Regions from separate parts of the Homo sapiens genome. Here all the other regions are linked to region 3. Evidence: promoter capture Hi-C in human tissues and cell types (Jung and others, 2019). All regions are on one chromosome and are shown on one strand. The core of a region is centred on a gene start or on the middle of the fragment in contact, and the rest is flanking DNA. Distances in the headings are between cores, read along the strand shown.

Evidence for each region. The method cuts DNA at HindIII sites, captures the fragments that hold promoters and counts their contacts. A contact is called where the count stands out against the background at its distance.
Region 1: a fragment that was not itself captured here is called in contact with the fragment with the promoter of GRIA4 in region 3 in 3 of the 25 tissues and cell types used here (heart left ventricle, lymphoblastoid cells and mesenchymal stem cells).
Region 2: a fragment that was not itself captured here is called in contact with the fragment with the promoter of GRIA4 in region 3 in 3 of the 25 tissues and cell types used here (adrenal gland, dorsolateral prefrontal cortex and hippocampus).

The regions. Positions count from the first base shown.
Region 1 is chr11:105,540,488-105,545,050 of GRCh38, forward strand. It overlaps a transcript of LOC105369468 not described here. Among named protein-coding and RNA genes, the nearest start is that of GRIA4, 67 kb to the right of the region's middle. The HindIII fragment of the contact is 5,063 bases long and covers 1-4,563 here.
Region 2 is chr11:105,714,990-105,719,358 of GRCh38, forward strand. All of the region lies in intron 3 of GRIA4 (glutamate ionotropic receptor AMPA type subunit 4), which reads left to right. Among named protein-coding and RNA genes, the nearest start is that of GRIA4, 110 kb to the left of the region's middle. The HindIII fragment of the contact is 7,108 bases long and covers 1-4,369 here.
Region 3 is chr11:105,607,423-105,612,359 of GRCh38, forward strand. It overlaps GRIA4 (glutamate ionotropic receptor AMPA type subunit 4), which reads left to right and starts at 2,651. Exons shown (of 17, transcript NM_000829.4): 1 at 2,651-3,006; 2 at 3,486-3,663; 3 at 4,854-4,937. The coding sequence starts at 3,576. RefSeq lists a silencer at 3,627-3,827. The HindIII fragment of the contact is 8,669 bases long and covers 1-4,937 here.

The DNA of each region.
Region 1 (4,563 bases), core at 1,047-3,546, 67 kb before region 3:
TTGGGTTCTGTTAAATCATTTTAAATAGAGAAAAATATATCAATAATGGTAATAAATATAAACTTGCCAGTTAAACAACAGAGATTCTTAGATTTAAAAAATAAAAACTAACAATATTAACAAAATACAAACCTTCAATATAAACACATGGAAAGATTAAAAAGAAAATTATAGAGGAAAATGATACTATACAGAAATACTAATCAAACACTGACTTGCATAGGAATATTAATATTACATATTTCAATTTTTAAATAAAATCGATATTGGAAAGAAAGTTATTAGATTATAAAAACATTTAACTTACTGTAAAGCTATAACAATTCTAAATATCTCCAAATAATAAAATGGGTTCATATGATATAAAGCAAACATTAATACAAATTAAATTGGAAAATTGACACATCTACCATTGGAATGAGAGACTTCAATAAATCTCTCTCCTAAATATTGATAAGTACAATACAGAAAATTAGGAAAGTTATAGAAAATTTGGGGCAATATAATTAAGCTTAATATAAATGGACATACATACAACTTTGCGTCAGTTAGAGAATGCCTGTTCTCTCAAACACACTGGAGCAGTTTCAAGATTAATCATGGATTAGGTCTCAAATTCTGGGATGCAAGGACGACTCTAGAGTCCACCCTGTGAAACAAGGACCAGCCCAGTCCTCATGCATTAGGAGGTTCAGCCTGGCTTACTTGCGTAAAAATTTCCAAGTTTCTCCCTTTTGCTCTACGTGTGTTCTTACAAGTTACATTTTTCAGAAAATAAAAATTTTCAGACTGGTCTGGCTGTGTCTGTTTCTTGGAACTAAAAGAGCTTCGTTAAAATTGAACTTGGTATCGCCCAGAACAGAAGAGTTACGGCACTGAGATTCTGAGAATGAGTGTTGATTATGATGAAGAAGGCTGTGTGACTCCCAGAAGGTCAGGCATTGGGCTACTTGGTAATCACTGCCGTAGAGAAATGTTTAAGAAAAGTGGTAGGGAGGAGAGTGAGCGGTAGATAATTCCTTGATTTAGGAAGCCTGCCTTCCTAGCCACTCTCCCCTTTAGGCGCTTTGTTTCAGCCACATTGGTGGTGTTTCAATTCCTTGAGCATGGTTTTTACCAGCTTTCAAACTTTGAAATAAAGTTTCACATTTGAAATTGTTCTTGGAATGTTCTTACTCCTTCCTCCCGCCAACTTCCTCCCTGAGGCCCCAGCTCAGATGTTACTTTCTGTGAAAAAACTCCTCGAGAGTTCTACCTAAATGTTTCCCTACTTATTCATTCTTTATTTCGTTCACAGTATCTATCACTGATGCATTTATATGATCTTTGTTAACCTATATTTTATACATAGTTTATATTTGTTTATTCCACTAGAGAATAAATGTTTTGAAATTAGAAACTATGTGATTTGTTCACCAGTACATATTCAGTACTTAAAATAGTGCATGGTACAATTTAAGGGTAAAGAGAATTTTCCCTCCTACTCTGAGGACTGAAGCCTGGTGAAATAAGCTGACAATGGATGGTTTAATAGAAGAAAAGACATACAAATGCATTAATGTGCGTAAGCAGAAGAGCAATACAGAAGATGAGACTCAAAGAAGGCCCAGATGAATGAAACTTAAGTAGAACCCTCTTCATGGGGGAAGGGAGATTGGAGAATGTAAGCCGTTTTTGAGAAGTATTAAATTATTTTTAAAAGAGATGAATGGGCCCAAAGAGCAGACAATAGTTTGTAAATTATTCTCTTTGGACTGAATGGGACCTGCAAGTCATAGGAAAGATGAGGGGTGGAACTGCACTGTGAACAAAGGTCTTATTATGAAGATAAACTCTCCCAGATAATCTCTTGGGGCTGGTCTTAGAATAGATGAAAAGTCTACCTGGATATGGTGAGGACTTTTAGTTTTTTGTCTTCTCTGGAGGTTAATATTTCCTGGTTATTTAATGAGATTCTTAGGGGTGGGTGGGAATTTTATTTCAAAAGTGTTCAGCATTATGGTATTATCTTATGAGCCCCAACAATATAATAGATGTAAAGAAGTAAAGGCTGATTGACAGCTCTCAATCCATTAGTAACTGAAGAAGTTAAAAGGATTAACTAAAAGGATTAATTAAATTGATCCAGGTTCTAGTCTGACTCTCATCCCTGTAAGTTATGACCATGAACAGGCTGTTTAACTTCTCCAAGTCATAGACTCTGTATCTCTAAATTACGGCTGGGGGTGGATGTGGATATCTTCTTCATAGTCGAATCAAATAAAACAGAATCAAATAAAAAGAGAAATTCTCAATACATTTCAAATATCTAGTACACAAGATAAAATATTAATGTTAGTTCAGCCCACTCCACATATCCCCACCTCTACCCCTCCTGCCGTAAGAGATAGGATACAGAGTTATTTCATGATCAATTCCAGTTAGAAAAGTATAGGAATGCCATCTTTGGTTAAATATAAGGAAGATAGGTCTAATGTTTACTGCTATCTACCAGGAGATAAGACTACTTCAAGAGAAGCATGGATTAGATCCCTCCTTGCCTCTGGCCATGTTTAGAAAATGGATGACTACAAAAAGGAAATTCTTTCTTTGTAAAGCAGATGATACTGGACAACCACAAAGGTGATTTCTAATTTGAAGATTGTATTAGTCTAATCTTTACTAATAAGAGCTGTATTTTTATCCTTTTTATCATTTTTTTTGTCCTTCTTCTGGTTTTATTGTTTTGAACTTTGATTCTTTGATGTATTGAGCTTTATAACTAAATGCACTACAATTAAGCCTTAAAGTAAACTAGAAATATGCTTTAATTGGATTTACTACAGGCCAGAGTTTGCTATAATAAGGCAATTGTATCCTGGATTCCAGGCAATAACATTTAGATTCTGAATTGCCAAAAGGAGCTTGGCTTAATGTACTTTATCTTGTAAGGCAGTATTCCAGCATGAGTTGTCATCTCCGTTGACATCAGGATCTTAGAGACATCCATTGCTAATAAGCACATTAATTAGTAATTATGTAATATCATAATTAGCCAGCATATCAATTAAATCCTTAATAATGAATAGTGTACTATATAAGATCATGAACAATTTTATAAATACTCAAATATAATTTCTCAATGTGAATTTCAATATATAATTTTGGGGTGAAATAAGGGTTTGCACTGGTAAGAGTATCATGTCACCACACACAAGAAAAACGTCTGAATTTACAACTATCACTGTGATATTTGATATTTTGTGGTATTTAAAGTTAAATTCTTGACTCTACTGCATGAAAAGATTTATGAAGGATAAACGGTGAGGATCCAAATTTTTCAAAGTTTGCTCCAGAGACAATACTATCACCAGCATCATAATTACACAGGGTCCTTAATGAAAATTTAGGCATTTCAACTCTTCCTAAGAGCTATTGGCTAGAAATGTTTTGGATTGCCTAAGAACCTGTCTTTTTACCAATGCCCTAGATGAATTCTGCAAACATCACAGTTTTGAAACTCATTGTACTAAAATATAGCTGAAGATAATATATGAGAACATAAGCAAATTGACTGTACTTAAAATGCTGACTCAGGTGAGTAGATTTTTAAAGTAATGTAAAGAACTAAAATACTTTTATGGGTGATTCTCATCTTATAATATTATTTTGAAGGTGCGTAATCCTGTGGCAGAAGCAAAACAGTTTCGTCCGGGCAGAAGGCACTGTAGAGGGGAAGAAACTATTACCTGAGGGACTAAATAAAAATTAATTAATATATGGATATTGAAAATACAGATAAGCTGCAAAGTAAAGTTTGCTAATACTGAGAGCCATCAAGTTCAAATTGGAATTTAGGTTTTATGGAATATTTAGCATGTGGTGATTAAAAATGTAGGTGCAGAGGAAAAGCTTCCCATTCACTCTCTTTTTTTGATTGTTTGTTTGTTTGTTTTTGTTTTTTGAGACAGGGTCTCACCCCATTGCCCAGGCTAGAATGGATTGTCACAGTCATGGATCACTGCAGCTTCGACCTCCTGGGTTCAGGTGATTCTCCCACCTCAGCCTCCTGAGTAGCTGGAAGTATAATAACATATCTTCATGCCTGGCTATTTTTTTCAAACTCCTGTGCTCAAGTGACCCACCTGCCTCAGCCTCCCAAAGTGCTGGGATTATAGGTGTGAGCCACCAGGTCCAGCCCCATTAACCCTTTCTGAAGGTTCACTAGAATGACTGACAATAGACAGATGAATAGGAGAAAAAGTCATATAAATGTATTTACATATATATGGACATGGAGTCCTGCAAATATGATACTCAAACCAAGGCCAGATGGTTGAGGCTTAAATCCCCTCTTCCATCTTAGAGTGAAATGGGGGTCTGTCAGTAATTTTAGGGGTAGTAAATAATTTTCAGATAAAATGAATAAGCCCAAAGAAGAATGGCCAGAAACAAAGTTCTTCTGCACCCTGGGGCAGGTGGTGGGAAGGTGAGGGGTAGACTTCACTGTGAAGAAAGTTTGTGTTTTCATGCAAATAAAGACTCCCAGATAATCAGAATTGCCCTTAGAAGAATAGATGAAAA
Region 2 (4,369 bases), core at 498-2,997, 110 kb after region 3:
CAGTCAAGGCCAGACTTGATGGCAATAACAATCACAATTGATTGCAACAAAATCATCATTTTAAAAATCTGAAAAAAACAGCGATTATATCTTATGGAGAATTTCTAAAAGTGGACTTTCAAATCAGTGTAAATCAGCGTAGTCAATAAACAGCAATCACTTATTTGCTACATGTTACCTTAGCATTCTGAGGAGTTGCCAATCATGACAATGGTCATAATCAAAAGATGCTGTAACCATACTATTACATCTTTTCATTACACTTGCTGAAGGCACGTTGTTGAGGACATTTTCTATTATATGACTACCTTCCCTATATTAAGTCTTATGTTTGAAACATCTTTTAGAATTTAGTACTAGAGATATATCTTTAACCTCCAACCAGGACCTGTTATGCTTAATCCCCACTGAAAATAAAATTATGTAACTGTCTATGTTTCCCTTTTTGTTTTGATGACCAAGAAGCCTACAGATAGATGTTGCTCTCTCATTAATAGTCAAATGATTAGTACAAGAAGTCAGACCAGGAAGAGGTCATTAATATCAATACAAAAGATTAAGAAAGGCTACAGAAAATACCAAATTTGAGCCAGTTTTTAGATAATAGAATATATTTGTGTATTAGACGAGCAAAAAGGATTTTAAAGAATGTAATTCTGTACTAGTTAGAATAGGCTAAGCTGCAGTAACAAAATGACCCAAAGAATTAAGGATGATTAAAGGAGAAGTCATAACTCTACAGTGGGTTTTCAATTCAATGGGGTTGGGGTTTCTCTCCACTTTGTCTTAAGGGACCCAGGGTCCCTTCATCTCGTGGCGCTACCATCCTTTAAAGCATCCATGTCATCTGCCTTCGGCTAACAGGAAAACAAGTACAAAGTACACACTGTAGGTGAAATGTGTCAGGCCTGAAAATGGCCCACGTTATTTCTACTCAATGCCCAACGGGAAAGACTTAATCACTCAGCTGCAACTAATTGCAAGTGAGGCCCAGGAAGAAGAGGAAAGTAGACATACAGGGCTCTGTTACAAACATTAAAAATAACAAACTAAAATGCAATTAGCCTTGGCATAGTAAAAAGCATAATTTTATATTAGACATGACTGTAATTTCCCTAAAAGTTTAAAAGTTTCTTATCCACTGCAACCAACCCTTTTTTCACATATGCAAGAACTTATCTATAAACACATACAGAGGTTTTGGAATGAATTGAAGGATCCCAGATTGACAAGAAACCATTATATCTTGTGGAACACATTTTAGCTACTATTAAATGTAAATTTTGCAATAACACAGAAGAAAGAAATAAAACAGCTCCTATTTACATAGTAAAGTAATATACTTACTTCTAGCTTATTTGATAATGTATATAATTCAAATTACTTTTAGTTGTTTTATTTATAACTGTATTCTCAAGTTCCTTAATTTGAACAATTTTAAATGATAATACAGTGGTTAAAATGGAATGAAAAATTTAGTTTCCTAAAATAAAATGTATCACAATCACTGAAAACCTAAATTATCTAAGTTGTAACACAGTGTGCTGTCCTATTTCTGATAACTCTGGTTAGAAAGCAATTGGTGGACAGTTTTGCAGAGACTCCTAAGCTACACATCATCACTGTACAGAAAACTCTATACATCATTAACAACGTATCAATGCAAGCAATATAATTCCCTAGAGAAGAATAGTTTGCACTTAACATCAATTTAACCATTTTCTCTAGACACATCCTATTATGAAGTTTCATAACTCAGCAGAAACATCGGTATGTAGCAGGGGGCAAACATTATGTAAAAGTGGGGAATGATCAAAAACTTCACTCTCAGATGGACTCTAATCTTTAACTAGAGAATATACTATATTATAATTTAAATTACCTCGATGCCTTACTTTTAGAAGAGCAAATTGTTCTCACGTTTTACAACTTGATAGGCAGTTGCTCTAATCCATAAAAAAAGAAAAAAGGAGAAACTGAGTCTTTGCCTTTTCTTACTCTCTGCAATCCTTATTATTCAGTGTTACATGGAGGTTTATCTTAGCAAAGTCCTCCGTGATAACTTATTCATTAATCTTCAGAATATCCCAAACAAGTGAATATTTTCCCCTTATGTTGAAAATGAGGTTAACATTATCTTCATCTCCATAGAATGAGTCACTAGAAAAGGTGGATTGGAGCTAAGAATTCCTGAAATCCCAGTCCAAGCATGTCCAGTTTCATAAACCACCTTTTAAAATTCATTCTTTCATTTCAGAGCATGGCAAGCTCCATACCAGCTAATTTTTCTCTGTGACTATAAATATACCATATTTGCCCTAAAAGCATAAAAAGAAAAAAAAAATCTTAATGGGAATTCTGCTCCTACCTAAGCCACTCTAGCAGTTATTTTCTTAGCAAACTCTTAATTATACGCCCTTAGACAACAAGAAATAAAGCTAAATCTCACTATCTCTCCAAAAGCAAGATTCTGTCTCAGTGAGACTCTTTAATTAATCCCATGATATATGTTTCTGAATTTCTAAAAAGACATTCTTACAAGTTTTTTTTTTCTTGGAAGGGAGGAATAGTCATTCCAGGGGAGAGAAGTACAAATTCCAATGGTAATAAATTTTCCCAACTTTCAAGTCGTCTTGCAATGACTTACAACAAAGAAAAGACATAACATAGAGTTAAACGAAGATTTTTAAGTACAGCCTTTGTTCTCTCTTTTTTCTTTTTTTTTATTTATTATTATTATACTTTAAGTTTTAGGGTACATGTGCACAATGTGCAGGTTAGTTACATATGTATACATGTGTCATGCTGGTGCGCTGCACCCACTAACTCGTCATCTAGCATTAGGTATATCTCCCAATGCTATCCCTCCCCCCTCCCCCCACCCCACAACAGTCCCCATGGAATACTATGCAGCCATAAAAAATGATGAGTTCATGCCCTTTGTAGGGACATGGATGAAATTGGAAATCATCATTCTCAGTAAACTATGCAAGAACAAAAAACCAAACACCGCATATTCTCACTCATAGGTGGGAACTGAACAATGAGGCTTTGTTCTCTTGAAAAAAGAAATGGATCATTGGTTGGCTAACAGTGCTCTAAAATTAAAACCAAAATTATTTACTATGGCTCACCTCAAACATAAGCCCAGAATATGGAAAAAGTAAACACTGAGTCTTAAAATATTTAAGGCTAGAACAACCTATGAAGCCAATGTATAGAATTAGGTGTGGTCACACAAGTATATAGACTACATGTGTAGCACTGACTGAGGATCAGCCAATTAAGCTCTTCCAAGCTTTCATTAGTGTAATTATTTTAAGGGGGCATGTTTAGATCCTTGGTTTAATTCACAGATGACTGATGCCTGTAATGGAGAGTGAGGCTCCAGACAAAGGTACCAATATTATCGTACCATAAGCACAATCTCCTCCCACCTCAGCTGTTGTGATGCTTTGCGTAAAGCAAATGTCAACAAATTTGATTCACTGGATGAATAAATGGATGGATATTTGAGGGAGGTGGAGAAGCATTCAAAGACCTTAAAACCCATATAAATTACAACAGAAAACGATTGCTGTCTCATGATACTACAAATAGAAAAGAATGAGGAAACTAATTTCAGTCCACTGTAGGTGGAACAATTACCTAACACATGCATTGGGTTCATGGTGGTAATGGTGGTGTCTCGACCTAGTTAAGGAACACCTCCTAAAAGGAGCTACTTGAAGGCCAAAGTTTACTGTTAATGTGGATACTCACGGAAGGAGAGGGAATGCACGCATGATTTTCCATTCCACTGCTCCCTTGGCAGCTCATTCCTTTGAGCTACCAGAGTATTGAAATGGAAAAGATTTGTGCTTGCTGAGGCTCCTTGAGCAGGATTCTTGTCAATTCCAATCAGCTGCTTACTTAGGAGTTTGGAACAAGCCAGGGGAAACAAGGTAGGGAGTCAGGCATGAATGAGCTTACATCAGAGTTATGCCGTGGAGCTCCAGATCTGAGGCATTAACACGAAGCACTTATTCTTAAAAAGCTGATCTCTCTCTCTTGTTTTTTTTAAATTTAAAAGGAAGGTGACTGCTGACATTTTAACTATACAGTGTTGATTTCTAGAATGGACAATCTGAGCTTCTTCAGGCATTCGTACCTGATCTTAGCACTCAATTTTTAAATTGAGAGTTCGGTAAGTGCTACAAAGAGTTCTATTTTTCACTCTAAAGACAGGGACAACTCAATAGGGTTCCCCATTTTCCCAATCACTCATTGTGTTTGCTGGACAGAATTGTGATTGGCATTAGGAACTATCGGAGCGATTAGGTAAACATAAAGTTGTCCCACGAGCGGCTGGCTATGTTTTGGGAGATTA
Region 3 (4,937 bases), core at 1,401-3,900:
ATTCCCTCAAAGTCAGAGTTAGACACTCTATTTTGCTCACATGGCACTCTGCACCTCACTCTATAAGAGCCTTTATCACATTTTGGGGGGCAACTCATTATTGACAAGAGTTGCCAGTTATGTGCCAGAACTGTGTTGAAAGTTTACTTATATCCTGTCAGAAAAGAAATGTTAGGTAATATATCCAAGTCAATACAGCTAAGAAATTGAGGGCCTGTAATCTGAAACCAGTTACTAATTATTAGTCTGAAAGCCTGAGGTCTTTCAGGTAGAACACACTACCTTTCTGAATGCTAGGATTCTTGTAGTTTACTTTTCAGCTCCCAGACCCCTCGTCACTCCTTAAACTCATTAACACAGCAGGTTTTAATAAAGACAGCCCAGTCTCTGAAATCAGACAACTTGAGTCCCATCCTTAGTTATGGTTTCATCACTTACCAAGAATATAATCTTGAGAAAGAATCTAAATCTTTAGTTGGGTTACCTAACAAATGCAAGGATACCTAAAATTTTCTGTAGATCAGGTAATATATGTATGGCTTCAGCACAATACCTTGCACATTAGTGAGCATTCATAAACATTAAGAGTCTTCTAAGAATATCAGGGATTTTGTTTTGTTCAACTTTATATCTCAAACACTTGGAGAATAAATACACATCATAGGTGCTTAATATATAACTATTTGACATATATGTACATCTATATACATGTATATACGTATATAATATATGTATATATGATATTTCTATGTATCATACAGAGAAAATATATTTGATACATACATTTATAAATATATGTGTATATAATACAGATAAAGAGAGTTTAGGTTTAGAAAGTAAAATAGAGGTTTTAACTACTTGGGAAAATAGAAATTAAAAACAACTGGATTACTATTTTGGAAAAATATAGTTGTGTCATCTGTGGTTATATTAGTCCAGGTGTTATCATGACAGTTAAGTGGGGAAAAAAAACTTGTCCTGCATCTATATCAATGATGCTATTACATCATATGAAAACTGAAATCTTTCAATTTTGAGAAGAATTAAAGTTAATAATTGCCTCTGGATCAGGAAGAGCTTCACTAGTTACCCAAGCAAGTGATGAGTTTAACAGTTTGGTGGATTTTGAAATTTTAATTTAACTTGAATTTTATGTGTCATACTCTATTATCCTTTTTCAAGAGAAAACAGAATGCTATTATTCACAGCCTTGTTTTTTAACACAGAAAAATAAAAAAAGGAAAAATGCTTCAAATTTCACTTGACTTGCAAGACTAAAACTTCACAAACTAAAATGACAAATGTATGATTTGTAAAATACAGTTACAATTAGGTTTTTTTTTTCATAACAATCTGTGGTGAAATGTAACGGGAAAGCAGACACTTATTTTAAAGATGCAATTTTAAAAATAAAATTCAAAACTTAGGAAATAGAAAAGCACTCAAGTTTTAGCAGGGATTTTAAAATGTCATCTACAAACTACAAATACAGGTAATCAGTGACACCAAATAAAGTATTTTGAAAGAGTTAAGGTAATGTATATTTCAAAAAGCCGTTACCAGGCTTTCTGTAAGTCCCTTGCAAGAATTCCACTTTAAGCATTGTAGTCTCAAATATTATATCAGGCAAACCTAGGCATTTGCTATATTCTTTTTAAAAATTTAATGGCAGACATCACCCTAGGTTCCCTAACGTTTAAGGAGAACCTCTCCTTCTAATGATTCTCTCACACAGCTTATTGGAACAGGAGATTGTATTTACTAACTAGATCAGGAAATCTCAAACCATACAGAGGAAATCAGAAACCGGTCACTCACGGCTACCACAGTGACTGCTTCTGAGTGTGGTTCAAGCTCAGTCCAGGACAGGCAGATGAAAGGACAATCTTAAAGGTGACTCTGGAGAGCAAGTGAGACTGTAACCCCAAAACTTTCTAGGATAATTCATTTTCACTTCTACCCAGTCAAAACAACTATTGACATCATCACTGAAGTGCTTAAGTCTACCTGGAGGTGGCGTGGAGCAGAGTGAGCATTCCAGAGTCCCAGACAAGAGGAGATGTGCACGAAACACTATCTTCCTGTCAGACACCTGTGCCCACTGCCCCAAGCACTGCCCCTCTGGTCCTTCATCAGCCTTTGCGCTGTGTCCCTCCTGCTCCTGCAATGGGCCACAGCACAGAAGGAAAGAGTCCTCCGGAATGGGTGACTGTATAGAAAGCAATCGAATCTTTAATCACTTTTCCTACTTTACACTTCACGCAGTTCTTATTCCTATCCCTGCTTCATGCCTTTCCAAGAGAATGTTAGAGGCCTCTTTCAATTTTCATTTCTCAGTCTTTTCCCCATCCCGTTCAGTACCCTAAACTTCGTCAGTTATTTAAAATAACCTTTTACCCCCTCCTCCCCTTCCCAGGATGTTTCAACTTCTCTGGCTCTCTTCCCCATCCTTACCTCCTCCAATTCTTTCATCCTGGTCCTGGCCTCTTAAACCCGCCAGGGGCTGCCCTTTGCCTGTCTTTTCTCCTCCCATCCCTCTCTGAACCCTTTCACCTCATCCATTCCCTTGTCAGGCTCTCCAGATTCCCGGGCTGTTTGCTGGTGAGAAATCTTTGCTGCAGCGAGGACCGGAGTCCCCCGCGCGCAGCCCAGTGGCAGAAGAGGGCTAGGCTGAGAGGGAAGCCAGGACTGTAGGAGAGGGAGGCAGCCCGTCCTCCTCACGAACCTGCAAGGATGCGGCAGGGGCCTGGGGGCATGGGGAGGTACTAACCCCCCGGAGCCCCCGATTGGGGCTTGCAGACCTGGCCCGTGGGCGGATTTTCTGCCTAGCGCAGCCGAGAAGCAGAGGTGCCAGGAAAACCAAGAGAGGGGCGCTGGGGGTGCCCATCCCCAGAGTCGGTCCCTCTGCGAACCGAGGAAGAAAAGAGGAGGGAGTCAGCGAGTGGTCAGAAGGGAAAACCTGACACCAGACTGGCTCCGGAGCGTCCGGGAGACTGGGGCGCTCCGGTGAGCACCCAGGGGGTGAAGCCAGCCGAGCGGTGGGCGAGGGGCGTGCGGAGGGAGTGCGCGCTCGAGGAGGGGACGCCAGGAGGGCAGCGATGCTCCGGGCTGGTGCAGGCTTGCTGGGGGATGTCGGCTGATGCGAGCTGGAGAGCGCGTGTGGCGGCCGCGGCGCCAGTGTTTGTGTGTATGTGAGAAAGCAAGGGGCGAGCGCGAGTGCGAGTGAGGCAAAGATAGAGCGCATGTCTCATCCCTGCGAGCAGCCACTAGACGCTCCACCACCATCTTTTGCATGTGCAACATTTGCAGCCGGACAGAAAACCTCTCCCAGGGCTATGGAGACTGCGGGAAAAATCTGGCGGCTCGCGATGGATTGCTAAGGAGAACTAGTCATAATCTTAAACCACCGAAACCTCTTTCCTTTTTTTTCTTTCTTTTCTTTCTTTTCTTTTTTTTTTTTTTTTTTTGGTTGATTTTAATTTTAGCGCCATCGTCTTCAATGCTTCTCTGAACAGCCTTTAGGAAGAGTGCGAGAGAAAGAGAGAGAGCGCGCGCCAGGGAGAGGAGAAAAGAAGATGAGGATTATTTCCAGACAGATTGTCTTGTTATTTTCTGGATTTTGGGGACTCGCCATGGGAGCCTTTCCGAGCAGCGTGCAAATAGGTAAGGTGTGCTCCGATGGGGTGTGCATGTGGCTGGTTGTAGCAGATATCCGAAAGTGAGTTAAATGAGTTGCTGATAAGCAATTCAGGGAAACCTTCAGCAGTTCCCTTCCCCTCTGTTTCCCTCCTCTTCCTTTCTCTCCTTTGCAAAAAGACTTCCTCTTTAGTGCAGGTTCCGTTGGAATACACCCAGGGCAGCCCACCCATGCGTTCTCAGCCCATAGCCCTATTTCCACCTTTACCTATAGTCGCTTAAGTAGGATTGAAATAAGTTGGGGGAAAGTCTTCGGGGAATTTGGTTGTATTTTATATGATATTTATTTCCATCCCTTTCTCTAAAGCATAAAGTGATGTCGAGTTTGTTTAAAAAAGAAAAAAAAAATCCACTTCTTCCCATTCTGGACGCCGCAGCTTTCTTGCTATTACAGAAAGACACTGTTTGAGGAAAAAGACATTTCCACCCGCACGCCCTGCCGTTTCTTGCTACCAGTTAGCAGATTCCAAAGTTAGATCCCTTTCCTGGAAGCTTCTCCCCTTTTATTTTGTTTTCTTCTTGAAGCTTTTGCCCTTATTTCTCTACCTCGACTCTGTTTCCAGGGACACCCTCCATCCTTGGCTTTTCTTGCTATTCTCCTCTACTGTCTTTTAATGGGACGCAGCTATTGAATTTCTTCCAGCTAAGCCCAGCCTCAACACTGCATCATTTCTCGTGGACTGTGCATAAAACGGAGTTAATTAGGCTGAGTCCACGAGCTGGAGGAAAATAAAGTTCATTTCTTCTTTCTGATTTCCCTCTTCCCTGTGTGGCACTATATCCCTTCATTTCCGTATTTTAATGTAAATCTCTTTTCCGCTCATCTGCATGCATCTTAGAGAGAGCTGCCCTGAGGTGGCTGATGTAGCAGTGTGCTGGGAATCAGGGGGAGGGCAAGGGAGAGAAAGGAACATTCACTAAATGGTCTCAGAGGTCATTGTGAGCAAGACACATTAGGACAAGAAAAAGCTGAGCTGCTCTAAAGACTAAATACTAAGCATGCACCTTAGGGACAAAGGGCAGTCTCCCTAGATGTGGCAGGTATAGCTCTTTAATTGTATGTGCTTGTGAATGGCAGTAGATTTGACTGTGCTTGGGGTGGGTATAATGTTGACAAGAGGAAACAGTGAATGTGCTTTTCCTGCTGTTTTTAATAGGTGGTCTCTTCATCCGAAACACAGATCAGGAATACACTGCTTTTCGATTAGCAATTTTTCTTCATAACACCAGCCCCAATGCGT